Regions from separate parts of the Homo sapiens genome. Here region 1 is linked to region 2. The links are contacts of gene promoters, found by promoter capture Hi-C in blood cells and fetal thymus (Javierre and others, 2016). All regions are on one chromosome and are shown on one strand. Each heading gives the region's core, a stretch centred on a gene start or on the middle of the fragment in contact. The rest is flanking DNA. Distances are from core to core; before and after follow the strand shown. Region 1 has its middle 46 kb from the start of SST. Region 2 holds the start of RTP1 (receptor transporter protein 1).

The links. Contacts are between HindIII fragments. The CHiCAGO score rates a contact against its expected background, and 5 or more counts as called.
Region 1: a contact is called between a fragment that was not itself captured here and the fragment with the promoter of RTP1 in region 2, in 1 of 17 cell types (M1 macrophages). The highest score is 5.2, in M1 macrophages.

The regions. Positions count from the first base shown.
Region 1 is chr3:187,621,556-187,628,127 of GRCh38, forward strand. No RefSeq gene overlaps it. Among named protein-coding and RNA genes, the nearest start is that of SST, 46 kb to the right of the region's middle. The HindIII fragment of the contact is 151 bases long and covers 2,845-2,995 here.
Region 2 is chr3:187,193,530-187,199,760 of GRCh38, forward strand. RTP1 (receptor transporter protein 1) reads left to right here and starts at 3,957. Exons shown (of 2, transcript NM_153708.3): 1 at 3,957-4,258; 2 at 6,022-6,231. The coding sequence starts at 3,987. It overlaps LOC101929106 (a long non-coding RNA gene), which reads right to left. Exons shown (of 5, transcript NR_110052.1): 3 at 5,699-6,231; 4 at 4,998-5,173; 5 at 3,561-4,501. The HindIII fragment of the contact is 10,837 bases long and covers 2,605-6,231 here.

The DNA.
Region 1 (6,572 bases), core at 1,670-4,169, 430 kb after region 2:
GACTGTGAAATGATGAAGAGTTGACTTAGATATTCATTAAGCTCCTTCCTGACCATATGCATCCATGGTTCTATGCCTGACCCAAAGCCCCCAGCCAGTATCTCATCAGTCAGGATGTGAACCCAAGTCCTCCAAGTCATACTTTATCCTATGCATTTTTTGCCCTATCCATTCAACTTTCCTTGGCTCATATTTCCAAATATTTCAGAATCCAACTGTCTAGGTGTAGGTGTAGTTATCATTTGAACACTGGCCAGAACAGGATCTCTCTGTAGGTTTACTGAGTAAACACTGACAAATTGGCCACTCAACAAATCACACATATTAACATGGAGTATTCTTCTCAAACAACATGAAATGATTTTTAAAAGTTCCTAACTTGGAGACTGGACCTTGGCTCCAGTCCTGAATTTTCCATCAAATGCCTATAGGAACCTGATCAAAGTCACTTTCTGTTTCAAGGCATTGGGCATCCTCCATTGCAACGTGACTGTTGGACAAGAGGTTCTTTTAAGCTCAGCAACGCAAGATCACAAGACTAATTGTCTTTGCTGCTAGCCATGGGAAGGCTGGAAGACAAGGAGCTTGGAATAACAAGCTTATCCAGGGGCTAAACAGAGAAAGCCAGGCTTAGCAATATCATATTGACATTCTTTACCAGCCTTGAATCCATTTGAGTTTGGGAGGTAAGAAGTAGCCCAGAAACAATGCAATGAGAAATTAGCCTCTCTTCTTAAGTCCTAAATGGTCATATGCCTTTGAGCTCCATTGCCCAGTCTCAGGTTGGCACTGTCTTCTGTCAGTAGCTATAGTATTTCCCCTACCACAACCCATCTCTATTTCCCATCACTGACAGCCCCATCCTCCATCTCCCTAGACAGATCTCCCTGCTTATGTTCCTACCATTTCTTGTCTGACAATCAATTTTCCTATCTGTCATTATCAATTCTGTTCATTAACTCTCCCACGTGTCTTAGCTGAGGCCTCCCGACACCAAAAAGCATCTCAAAAAAAAAAAAAAAATGACAATGTTCCCAAACAGAATAATTGAAACTTCTTGCACATCTAGAGAGACTTCTGTCTGAAACCCTCAGAGCCATTTTTTAAATGTCAGTAGAAATGTACATTTTATACTAGGGAGGCAGACTTCACCATTCTAGCACAACCAAATGAAAAGTAAAGCAGAAACCAAAAAACATTCAGCAACTACTTTTTTCTTTGTGGTTCACAGAATGCAAAACTGGTCTGACCATTTTTTTTTAAGTTTAGTTGACTTGTTAATTGCCTGTAGTTCTTTTAAACATGGCCTAAGAAACGGTTACTACAGGAATAATACTGTGAAGAAGGTGAAAATGCTAGAGAGACCGTCTTGTGCCTTTCTCCGAGGAGTTCCGTGAACTGCTCAGTTGCTAAGACTTGATAGGAACTTGTAGAAAGACTTCTGTAGCACTACAAGGCAGTAATACATATTGATGAAAAATCTCTGTTATCAGGCTATCTGTATTTAAGAGTTATAATAACAACAGCTATTCTTAGACAATTCTTTACCATTTATAAGGTATTTTCACACATATCACATCACTTTGCATTTACTGTTTCCCCTATCCTGAACATTCCTCCCTCAGATATCTACCTGGCTTGCTCCCTCACCTACTTCAGAACTGTGTTCAAATGTTATCTTTCCTATTGGCCTAAAGGAAAATTGCAACTGTGCCCACCTCCCCTGAAACTCCCTGTCCGCTTCCCATGATATGCTTCTCCACAGCACTCCTCACTGTCTGACTTGCTATACATTTTACTTGTAGAATGTGAGCTCCCTAGGGAATGAGATCTTTGTATTTTCATGGCTATATTCCCAGTGCCTGGAACACAGTAGTTGCTCAGTTAAGACCTTTTGAGGGAATAAAAGAATACATTGTGAATGCGATTCTCCCCACAGCCTTGAGGAGCAGGAGGCATCATTATTACTATTTTGCAGATGAAGCAACTGAAACTCAGAAGGCTAAGTGGTCAGACCACATGGATGAGAGGGGCAGACCCAGATGACCTCACACTGGCTCACTCTGTGCTCTCCAGAGACACATCTCGGAAACAGACACTTTAACAAGTGCACCCTCCCACTCAGGAAGGAGTGTCCAAGTCAGACGAGTGCTGAGAGCTATAATGCTCAGCCCTGTGCCTGCACCCCTGCATTGGCCCTCTCTTGGCACCTGCCTTACCCACCCTCCAGGGAGTGCGTTCCCAGGCACCCACTGTATTTGATGAGCACCTGCAGGTCTAATTATCCCATTAAGGTAGGATAAACAAAGAAAAAGGAAGGAAGAAATAATTACAAAACAAGCAAACCTGAATGGTCAACACATCAACACAGTAATTACATTTCTCCAAAAAGAAAAAGACAGGAACTAAGCTTTTCCACCTAACTCTTTTTGCTTTCGAATGGAAGCCTCCTCTCTCAGCTGCAGATTACACGGGCTGGCAGCTTTCCCACCCTCACCATGCTCCTTGTTGCCTCTATTGACAGAGGTGAGCCATTACTCTTCACTAAAATTCAGTGTCCACACATTCGCCCCTTGACAACACTCTGGAAATTGATCTCTTCAAATATCTTTGGAACTAAATTAAGGCAATTTGTTCTTTCCCTGATCCACATGGTTGTCCTCTGGGACAGAATCATTGCTAAAAGGATGATCATGATTTTTTGAAAAGGGAGGGAAGTCTTCCGGGAAGGAGGCAATCCAAAATCTTGGTAATATTGAGTATAAGTGATTTTAAAAATCAAATACCATTAATACTGCTATACTGCTTACAAAGAACATTCACATCCATTATCTATAGGATTTAAGCTTTGTGCTACTCTATGAAGAAATTGAGAAATACCTGACTTTCCATTTTATAGGTGGCAAAACTAGGGAAATGACTTACCAAAGTTCACATCCCTGTAAGTGAAAGAGCAACAAATACTCGAATCCAAGTTTTCTGACTCTAAGTGGAAAGCTTTATGCCACAAATATGGTATGTGTGTGTATATGTGTGTAGAGAGAAAGAGAGACTGATTCTATTTTCACCCTGCACCTTCCAAATTGTCTTTTCTGGGCACCTCACTCGGCTTCCCTGTCCTCAGATGTATTTTCCTGCATCAGAGAGCACTCTGGCAGTCCCCAGACTGGCTGTGCTCAGAGGTTAGCATTTTACATTCCACAAGTATTTGGCTTGCTTTAAGAGCATGGACTTCTGAGTCAGACAGACCTGAGTTCCAGCAGGGATAGATTGCACCGATCCTCAACATCTCCACTCACCTCACAGCATTGTTGACAAAATTGTATGAAAAGACGCCATGTGGTATCCATCACAGCTCATGGCACACCGAAAATGCTCAGTAAATGAGAGCAATTCTTGTTGAGTACCCTGTTCACTTCTGTATCACATCTGAGAGGTGGGGGTCCAGGCTCTTATCTTATCTTACATTATTGCTCAAAGCCTTCGCCAGAGTCACTCTCTGGGCATGAGCGTGCATGGAAGCAGTGATATCCTCTAATTTGAAAAGTTCTGGGTGCTGAACAGTAGCAAAGACAGCAGCAGGAATTCCTATTTTCTGAACATTTAGTGTTCTCCATGAATAATTGTCATTAATGTCGTCAGCCGCCCTACCATTAATCCCATTTTAGAAGTATTAACACCATTCATTGTGTCCATAGACCTGCTAAACACTGAATATTTGTGTCACTGCAAAATTCATATGTTGAAACCCAACCCCCAAGGTGATGGCATTTGGAGGCAGGGCCTTGGAGAGGTGATTAGGTCAGGTTAGAGGCCCTCATAAATGAGATTAGTGCTCTTGTAAAAAGGACCCCAGAGAGCTCATTTGCCCCCTTCAGCCATGTGAGAACATAGTAAAAATATGGTGTGATATTATGAGATTGTATATGTGTGTGTGTGTGTGTGTGTGTGTGTGTGTGTGTTTTCATCCACAGTTCCCAGTTTATCACTCCCATAGCCCTTATTACAGTCTTTTGTTATAATGCTGGGGCACTTTAGGTGTCAGAAAGCAGAAGCTCTCTCTCACTGACCTTTCTCCTGCCGTTTTTTCACCTGCTTCTTTTTCTCCTCAAGGCAGGATTTAGAAACTAAAAATACACTCTAATCTTCCCCCACCTCTGGTCATAAAGAAATTTTCTGACCCACCTTGTCTGATTGTAGATCATAAGACCTCTGCTTCCAAAGAGGTTCAGCCTCGTACCCTGGGGAAGGAACACTGCACAGAGAGGCCAAAAAGAATTTGAACAGGCAGGACTTGCTGGGGATCCCTGCTCAGTTATTAGTATTAGATTATACTCTTCTTGTCCAATCACATTTCCACATGGCTGTCAATCAAGCCTATCCAATGAAGTCTCCATAAAAGGCCCAAAAGGACAGAATTCAGAGAGCCTCCAGATAGCTGAACACGTAGAGGTCCCTGGAGGGTGGTGCACCCAGGAATGTCATGGGAGCTCTATGCCCATTCCCATACCTCACCTTATGCATCTCTTTATTTGTATCCTTTGTAATATTCTTTATAATAAACCATTAAGCATAAGTAAGTGTTTCCCTGAGTTCTGTGAACTGCTCTAACAAATTTATAGAACCCAAGGAGGTGGGTAATGAGATCCCTGATTTATATCTGGTTGGTCAGAAGCACAGGTAAAGCAGCCTGAGGCGCAGTGGCTCTCACCTGTAATCCCAGCACTTTGAGAGGCCAAGGCAGGTGGATCACTCGCGATCAGGAGTCTGAAACCACCCTGGCCAACAGGGTGAAACCCCATCTCTACTAAAAATACAAAAATTAGCCAGGCATGGTGATGGCTGCCTGTAATCCCAGCTACTCAGGAGGCTGAGGCAGGAGAATTGCTTGAGCCCAGGAGGTGGAGGTTGCAGTGAGCAGAGATTGCACCATTGCACTCCAGCCTGGGTGACAGAGCGAGACTCCACCTCAAAAAAAAAAAAAAAAAAAAAAAAAAAAGTAGGGGACAGTCTTGGGGACTGAGCCTTCAACTTGAAAGGGCTCAGTAGATAGCCCTGCAGGTAGATAGTGTAAGAACTGAATTGAATTGAATTGAATAAGACACCCAGCTGGCATCCACTACAGAATTGAATGCTTGCTTGATGGTAGAGAGAAAATCCCTAAACATTTAGTCACATAAGTCTTCTGTGTTGATTGTTGTGGCGTAAGAGCAGAGAAGAAACATTTTGTGTTTACTCCAATCTCAGATGGCCATCTGTGAACCAGGAAGCAGGCCTTGCCAGACACCAAACCAGCCAGTGCCTTGTTCTTGAACTTTCCAGCCTCCAGAACTCGGAGAAATAAGTTTCTGTTGTATATAAGCCACTCAGTAGTGTGGTATTTTGCTATAGCAGCCTGAAAAGACTAAGACAAGCCCTATGACATAAAGATGCAAAGAAAAACTTGGTAACTGAACAAAGGATGCAAACTGAGGGAGTCCACCTGTCAGAATGTAGGCTTTTAACCACTACACTATGCCATTTAAAGAGTGAGCAGGCCTTTTTGGAACACCTTGTCTTCTCCTGCAGCAGGACTGACCCCTTCCAAGTACCCTTTCCTACCTGGCAATTCCACTCTGGCCAGTCTGTGGCTCAAGCCACAACTAGAGTGTTAAACACAAAATTTAACACAAAATGTTAAAGCTAGACAAGCCCACAGATTTAGTCTTCTTACCTAGTAACTCCCTCATTTCTCAGATGAAATTGAGGCCCAGAAGGGAGGTGAGCTGCCTGAGGCCTCACAGTCTCATTCCATAACTGGAATGAAACTCAAAACTGTGAGTACATTGTGGGCTGTGGGAAGTTGTTGTACCGGCTGCCTGGCAGCTTGGCTGTGCCCCTCCATTACCTTCTCTGGCACAGCGTGCAGCTCCTCACCATCCCATCAGCATAGGCTGTGGTATGACTTGGTTTGTCATAATATTTTGTTTAAATTGTTTGATTTAAATGTAGATATAGATATATTTATATATAGGTATCGATATAGATAATCTGTGCTTTTTAACATAGGCAGCCACAAATCTTTTGGGAAAGTAGATAAAGAACAAATGAATGTGTAAATAAGCCAGGCAAGGTGGCTCACACCTGTAATCCTAGGACTTTGGGAGGCCAAGGCAGGTGAATCACCTGAGGTCAGGAGTTCGAGACCTGGCCAAAGTGGTGAAACCCTGTCTCTACTAAAAATACAAAAATTAGCCAGGTGTGGTGGCAGGTGCCTATAATCCCAACTACTCGGGAGGCTGAGGCAGGAGAATCGCTTGAACCTGGGGGACAGAGGTTGCAGTGAGCCGAGATCATGCCACCTCACTCCAGCCTGGGTGAAAGAGCGAAACTCTGTCTCAAACAAACAAACAAACAACAACAACAACAAAAAACCCAAAAAAACTGTAAATAAGTAGATCAGTGACAACTTAGCATCCTTTTCATCATTCTTTCTGAAAATTTTGGAAATTCTGAAGTAGGTAAGTGCAGGGAAGAAAAGCAAATTTAGCAGTGAGTATGGCTCGTAAATTACTTTACTAAAGGGAAGAAAT
Region 2 (6,231 bases), core at 2,707-5,206:
TTAAAACATGATCACAAACTTTAAGAAATTGACCAGGGTGAGGCCAACAGCTTTAGAGATGTCTGAATTGGCCTTCTCTAAATTGTAGATTCCATGGTGTTAGAGGTCATTTGATAGAGAGCAAGTTGCAATACCACAGTATTTTTTTCTGTCTTGATAGAAATTTTTATTAGAGAAAATACTCTGCTATCCAGAAGGATGCATTATATTGGCCTCTGCACAGCAAGCTTGGGTTCTAAATAAAACTTAATTTGTGCCAATGGGGATTGCATCAGCTGGTTACACACACACACACACTCACACACACACACACACACACCCCTCTGGTGATTCTTACTTTCTGTCTTCTGTCATCATAGTGTTTATTGTAGCAACACCTGCAAAATACTTCTAGAGGATTTGTTCTGGGTAGCACTGTTTGTTATAAGCTCCTCTCAGCTTCACGTATTTTCTGGGAAGGTCCACAGCCCCCATTCTCATTTTGGCCAGTAACTCCCACCTGAGGCAGTTCCCATCATATCTGTGAGGTTTGTTAAACGAGTTTACTTATTTAGGTGTTGGTTGCCTTAATTCAGAGGTAAGAATACTGACTTGAAGGACTGAAAGTTTAATGAAGGGTCCTGAAGAACTTAAGAGTTTTTCCCAATGCCGGCCAGGTGAGATGGCGCATGCCTGTGATCTTAGCACTTTGGGAGGTGGAGGCAGGAGGTTTGCTTGAGCCCAGGAGTTTGGGACCAGCCTGGGCAACACAGCAAGACCCCGTCTCTACATAAAAAATGGGTTTTCCAATGTTAATGTTCAGTGGCTTGATATATTTAATTTCTGTCCTTCTTGCTGTGTTCAGTACAAATCTAGTAGAGAAGCACCTCCCCAGAGATCGTCAACTATATAGCAGGCCCCAGGAAACAGAGCCTGGCTCCAGGCATTACCTGCCATGCCTCTTTAGAAGCTTCCCTCTTCCAACCAGTGGCCTCCATCCTACCTCCTGCCCTCCCAGGATTCAGTTTTCTAAGTATAAAGCTGTTTGAAACCATACATGACTGAAGTTAGAGGGGAGCTTACCTTTGTCATCTACCCTAATTCTTCATTGAACAGATGGACAAACTGAGGCCAAGGGAAATTAGTGGCTTGCCCAAGGTCACAATGTCAGCCAGGAGCAGAGCTGGGCTATGTGTCTCCTGACTCCCAGTTCAGTGCTCTCTCCATTGAGCCAAGATGCCTGGCATCAAATGATTGAGGCTTTACAGGGTTGCTGTGCCTAGAGATGACTTTCTGTACCATATTTTCTTTGGTAAGATTTCAAGCTAAATATCTCTCTCAGCTCTAAAATATTTATACCGAGTATCAGGGGTCTGTGGACACCATTGCTTCATTAAGTTTGGCAGTAGAGGCAGCATCCCCAGCAGTAGCAGGGAGCCTGGTGGGTCAAGTACAACTCACCCCTCTTCTGGGGAGATGTGGCCTCAGTGTGGGGGGGCCCCAGTGAACCATTTGCTGAAATGATATAAACTTCATTTGCAATTCTTGGGGTCTGTAACGGCCACGTGAGTGATGAAGAAACACACATTTAATTAGCAGATGTTATGTTCTAGATTCCACGCTGAGCATCACAATGGCTAAAGCTGGGGCTTTGTAGACAGTCATATAGGTTTAAGTCCCAGTTCAACTAGTTATTAGCTGTTAAATCTTGTGCAAGTTATCTAACCTCTAGACTTTAGCTCACATATCTGTAAAATGGAGCTGCTGCTGCTGTTACCTACCTGTCAAGTTTGTTATTGAATGAAATAAATTAATATTTATAAAGCACCAGAACAATGCTTTCTAAGCACTTACCAGGTAAGTGCTGTATAGTGATTGCTATATAGTAAGTGCTATATGGTGATTGCTGTTACTATGCAAATTAAAATTATATTCACATAAAACATTAACACGTATTTTTTACTAGGATGAAAAGATACAGATTATATACATTAGAATTGCTACCTATGAGTCTATATGGAAATTTTTTTTTTTTTGTAAAAGCAGCCAGGCACGGTGACTCATGCCTGTAATCCCAGCACTTGGGGATGCTAAGGTAGGCAGATCACCTGAGGTCAGGAGTTTGAGACCAGCCTGGCCAACATGGTGAAATCCCATCTCTACGGAAAATACAAAATCAGCCAGGTGTGGTGACGCATGCCTGTAATCCCTGTTACTTGGGAGGCTGAGGCAAGAGAATCACTTGAACTTGGGAGGTGGAGGTTGCAGTGAGTCGAGATTGTGCCATTGCACTCCAGCCTGGGCAACAGAGCGAGACTCTGTAACAACAACAACAACAACAACAACACCACAACCAGGCAAGCCATTCTAAAGCCCCTGCTTTTAATCACAGCAGATACTGTTTTGTTATTATCCCACTGAGAAGATGAATAAACTGAGGTTAAAATAGTGTAAATCAAGGCATCAAACATCCATGAAGCGGCAGGAGAAGCACTTGGAAGATGGTTTCTGGTATCAGATGGGTGATTTTAAGTCCCTCTTTTTCATCACTAAACTTCAAGATCTGCTGGCTGTCCAAAATTCATACTGTTTGAAGAGCCTGCTCAGATTCTGCTAGCCACACCAAGCTTTTGGAGAGAGTGGAGTCAAGAGACGTGTTTTCCAATTGTAGGAAGTGTTGTTTCTAATGCATGCGATGAGCTTCGTCAACAAGTTTATACAAATAGATGGGAAGAGTGTAATGTGAGAAACTGAAATAAAACCAAAATGCCCTAAAAGACAGGATTGGCTAAATAAATTATGCCTATCCATATAACAGAATATAGGTAGCCCATAATGTACTACTACGGAATATGACCTAGAAAAATATTCATGACGTATTATTTTTTGAAAATGTCACAATGTGGTATATAGAATGTATGTGGTGTACAGAATGTGTGTGTATATACACACACATACACTTGTACATGTACAGAAAAATGGTAAGCGGGATGTACATATCGTAATGTTAACAGTAGTCATCTCGGGTGGGGTTTTATGGAAGAGTCTTACTTCTCTTTTCTTTCATCTATATTTTGTATTTTTTCTAGAATAAACCCATATGATTTTTTAAAAGGAAAAATAATTTATTAAAAATAGCAGCAGAGGCATGTATAGTAAAGGCTGTTTTGCCTGTGGGTGGTGCTCCTCTTCTGCGCTTCTATAATCAGCTTGGAAATAATCTTGTCTGCTCCTGCCTGGCTGATGCAATGCTCCTACCTTTGTGCACAGGTGGCTGTTCTTGCACAAGGCCATTGCAGCATGGATCCTATTGCACAGTTATTCAGTACACAGTCAGCTACAAGCACTGACATAGAGCTTGGCACATGTCTGCAAACCCTACCCACATGCTCGGATATGTTTGAAATGAATGAATTAATGAACCGGTCTGGGGTCAACAGCTTGAATTTGTATACAGGCTCCGCCATTTATAGGCTAGGTGAGTCCTAGGCTCCTGATCTGTACTGCAGCAATAGTAATCATAACTTAAGAGACCTCCAATTGTGTTTTGAAAATGGCAAAGTGCTGGTCACAAGATGGCTGGGGAAGCCGAGAGAGAGTTTATTATTATTGCTCCATCTACTAACAAATTTACATCTCCCCATCCCTCATTTCTCCTTGGCTGCCTAAGGCATCATGGTTACCGTAGCAGCCAGATGCTGATGATGCCTCCAGGGGACGGCAAGGTGAAACTGAGCCAGTTCCCAGTCCTCACCTCCCCATACTCTTTCCAGGCCAGGGTGAGATGGTCTGAAGCTCAATCTCTGGTCAGGTCCCCCACTCTGTCTTGGATCATTTAGACCCACAAACTCTGCCTCTGCAATCTCAGTTCAGGGCCTTGAAACACCTCTTCAGAGACTCCCTCCTCCCCAAGCTCTGTCTTCTGGCAACCTGCCTGGTTGCCGTGGAAACAGGTTCCACTGCGGACAAAGGAGGGAGCTGGGTCCTGCTTCCTCCTGGTCTTGTCGATGAGGATTTTTAGACCGTGGAGACTGCGCTGCCCTGCCCTGCACCTACCCTCACTCTCCGTGTTCTCACTAAGGTGGAAATTGCCTTCCCTCACTACTGACGAGACCATGTGTAAAAGCGTGACCACAGATGAGTGGAAGAAAGTCTTCTATGAGAAGATGGAGGAGGCAAAGCCGGCTGACAGCTGGGACCTCATCATAGACCCCAACCTCAAGCACAATGTGCTGAGCCCTGGTTGGAAGCAGTACCTGGAATTGCATGCTTCAGGCAGGTGAGTAGCCCAGGAAGGTGGATCCCTGCAGGCCGCCTCTAGGTCCCTAGCTCTGGGGCACCTTCCAAGGAGAGGAAGATTACGTAGAACCCAAGTGTTTAGCTTCAATCTCACTATTAGGCTGGCGTAGACTGGAAGTCAGAGAAAGAGTCCCTAACTGGGAACTACGACACTTGAGTTGGATTTCAGCTCTTCTACTGATCACCTGTGTTACTCTTCCTCTCTGAGTCACAATTTTTCCGTCTGGAAAATAAAGACATAGAATATACGTATGAGTCCTACACACTGACATTTTACATATTTTCTATTTTAACAGTCTCTTAAAAAGTAGTTTAAAACCAGAGAAGAAGGGTTTGAGGCCCACTGGGGGTCGAGACGTCCGTGCTCTGGTCCTGGGACCGGTTTAAATCTATTTAACTCAACTTAATTTCACTTAAAATATTGAATACATGAGATGTGCCAGAAACTGGCTCTATCATTGGCTCCATGGCTGTTGAGGAACTCGATTTTCTTCTTGGACCTGGCTTTCTCCTTTTGCACAGTGAGAGGTTAGCCTGTGGTCCACAGAGCAGCAGGATCGGCATCACCTGGAATTTGTTAAGAAAGCAGAATCTTGGGCCCCTTTTAGATCTGAATCAGAATCTGATTTCAAGAAGAGTTCTAGGTGATTAGTATGTAAAAACTATCTGAGATGAATTTCTAGCACTCTTGTTCATGGGTCCAGAGTGTAGGGGCTTACCTTTGAGACATAAGATGGGGAGGCTGAGTGGTGCAGCCTGGAAGTCAGAAGCAAGGCCTTCCTGCTTGCCCTGGTTCAGCCAATTCACTTCAATTCAGGAAACATTACTGGGCACCTGTTACGTGCTGGGCGCCGGTTCTGCCTCTAGCTGTGTGTACATGGATGCCTCTCTCACTCTGTCTCAGCATAAAAGAAAACATTAATTAGGTGATTTCCAGGTCCCTCTAGTTACGACATTTTTCAATCCAGGTTTTGTAGTCTGGTCTGAGAGAGGAAACAGTCCCCAAAAGATGTGTGAACAAGAAGAGAATGAAAATGTGAAGCTCCTAAACTGGCTGACAGGAGGGGTGTCAAGGGCTGGACACTTACAGGCAGGATCAGGAGCTTCTTGAAGACCTGGAAGGCTGTGGGGGCTGAGTGGGGAGGGCTTGTGGCTGCCCCAGACCTGGCTGGGGACCTGTAATCCCCAGCTGGCCCCAGTCAGGCCTGGGAGACTACAGGCCTTGGGGATCTGGGCACAGACTGCCTCCACCTCCAGGCCTTGTGATGCATTAACTCTGACACTGGCCTGGACGTTGATAGCTAGTAATGGTGTCATTTTCTCCTAATTTGGATCTAGCCTGTTCACAGTCAGTGTTAACAGATAGAAATGTGCAGATGGATTATGTGTTTCTTATCTGGTGTGAGAAGGAAGGACTCACCTAGTGCACCAAGCGCATTTTGCCCATGAGGAATAAGAATGACGCCCAATGCTGGGGTGGTGGGAGTTAGGCCTCTGGAAAGCACTGAGGAGGTAGAGCACTGCTGGATGCCCGGTGACATCCTGAGGAACCTGCTGTAGTCCTAGGGGCACTTGCAAGGCTGAGTGGCTTCCTGGGGAAAGCTAATGAACCCAGGGCGCCGGCAACACACTTCCTCCACCTCCAGGCTCTGCTTAGCCTCCACGTCCCCTCACGCCATTCCTAGGGCTGTTTCCACCACCTCCGCCCGTCTTCTATTCCTCCCTCTCCTCCCGTCTCCGCAGGTTCCACTGCTCCTGGTGCTGGCACACCTGGCAGTCGCCCTACGTGGTCATCCTCTTCCACATGTTCCTGGACCGCGCCCAGCGGGCGGGCTCGGTGCGCATGCGCGTCTTCAAGCAGCTGTGCTATGAGTGCGGCACGGCGCGGCTGGACGAGTCCAGCATGCTGGAGGAGAACATCGAGGGCCTGGTGGACAACCTCATCACCAGCCT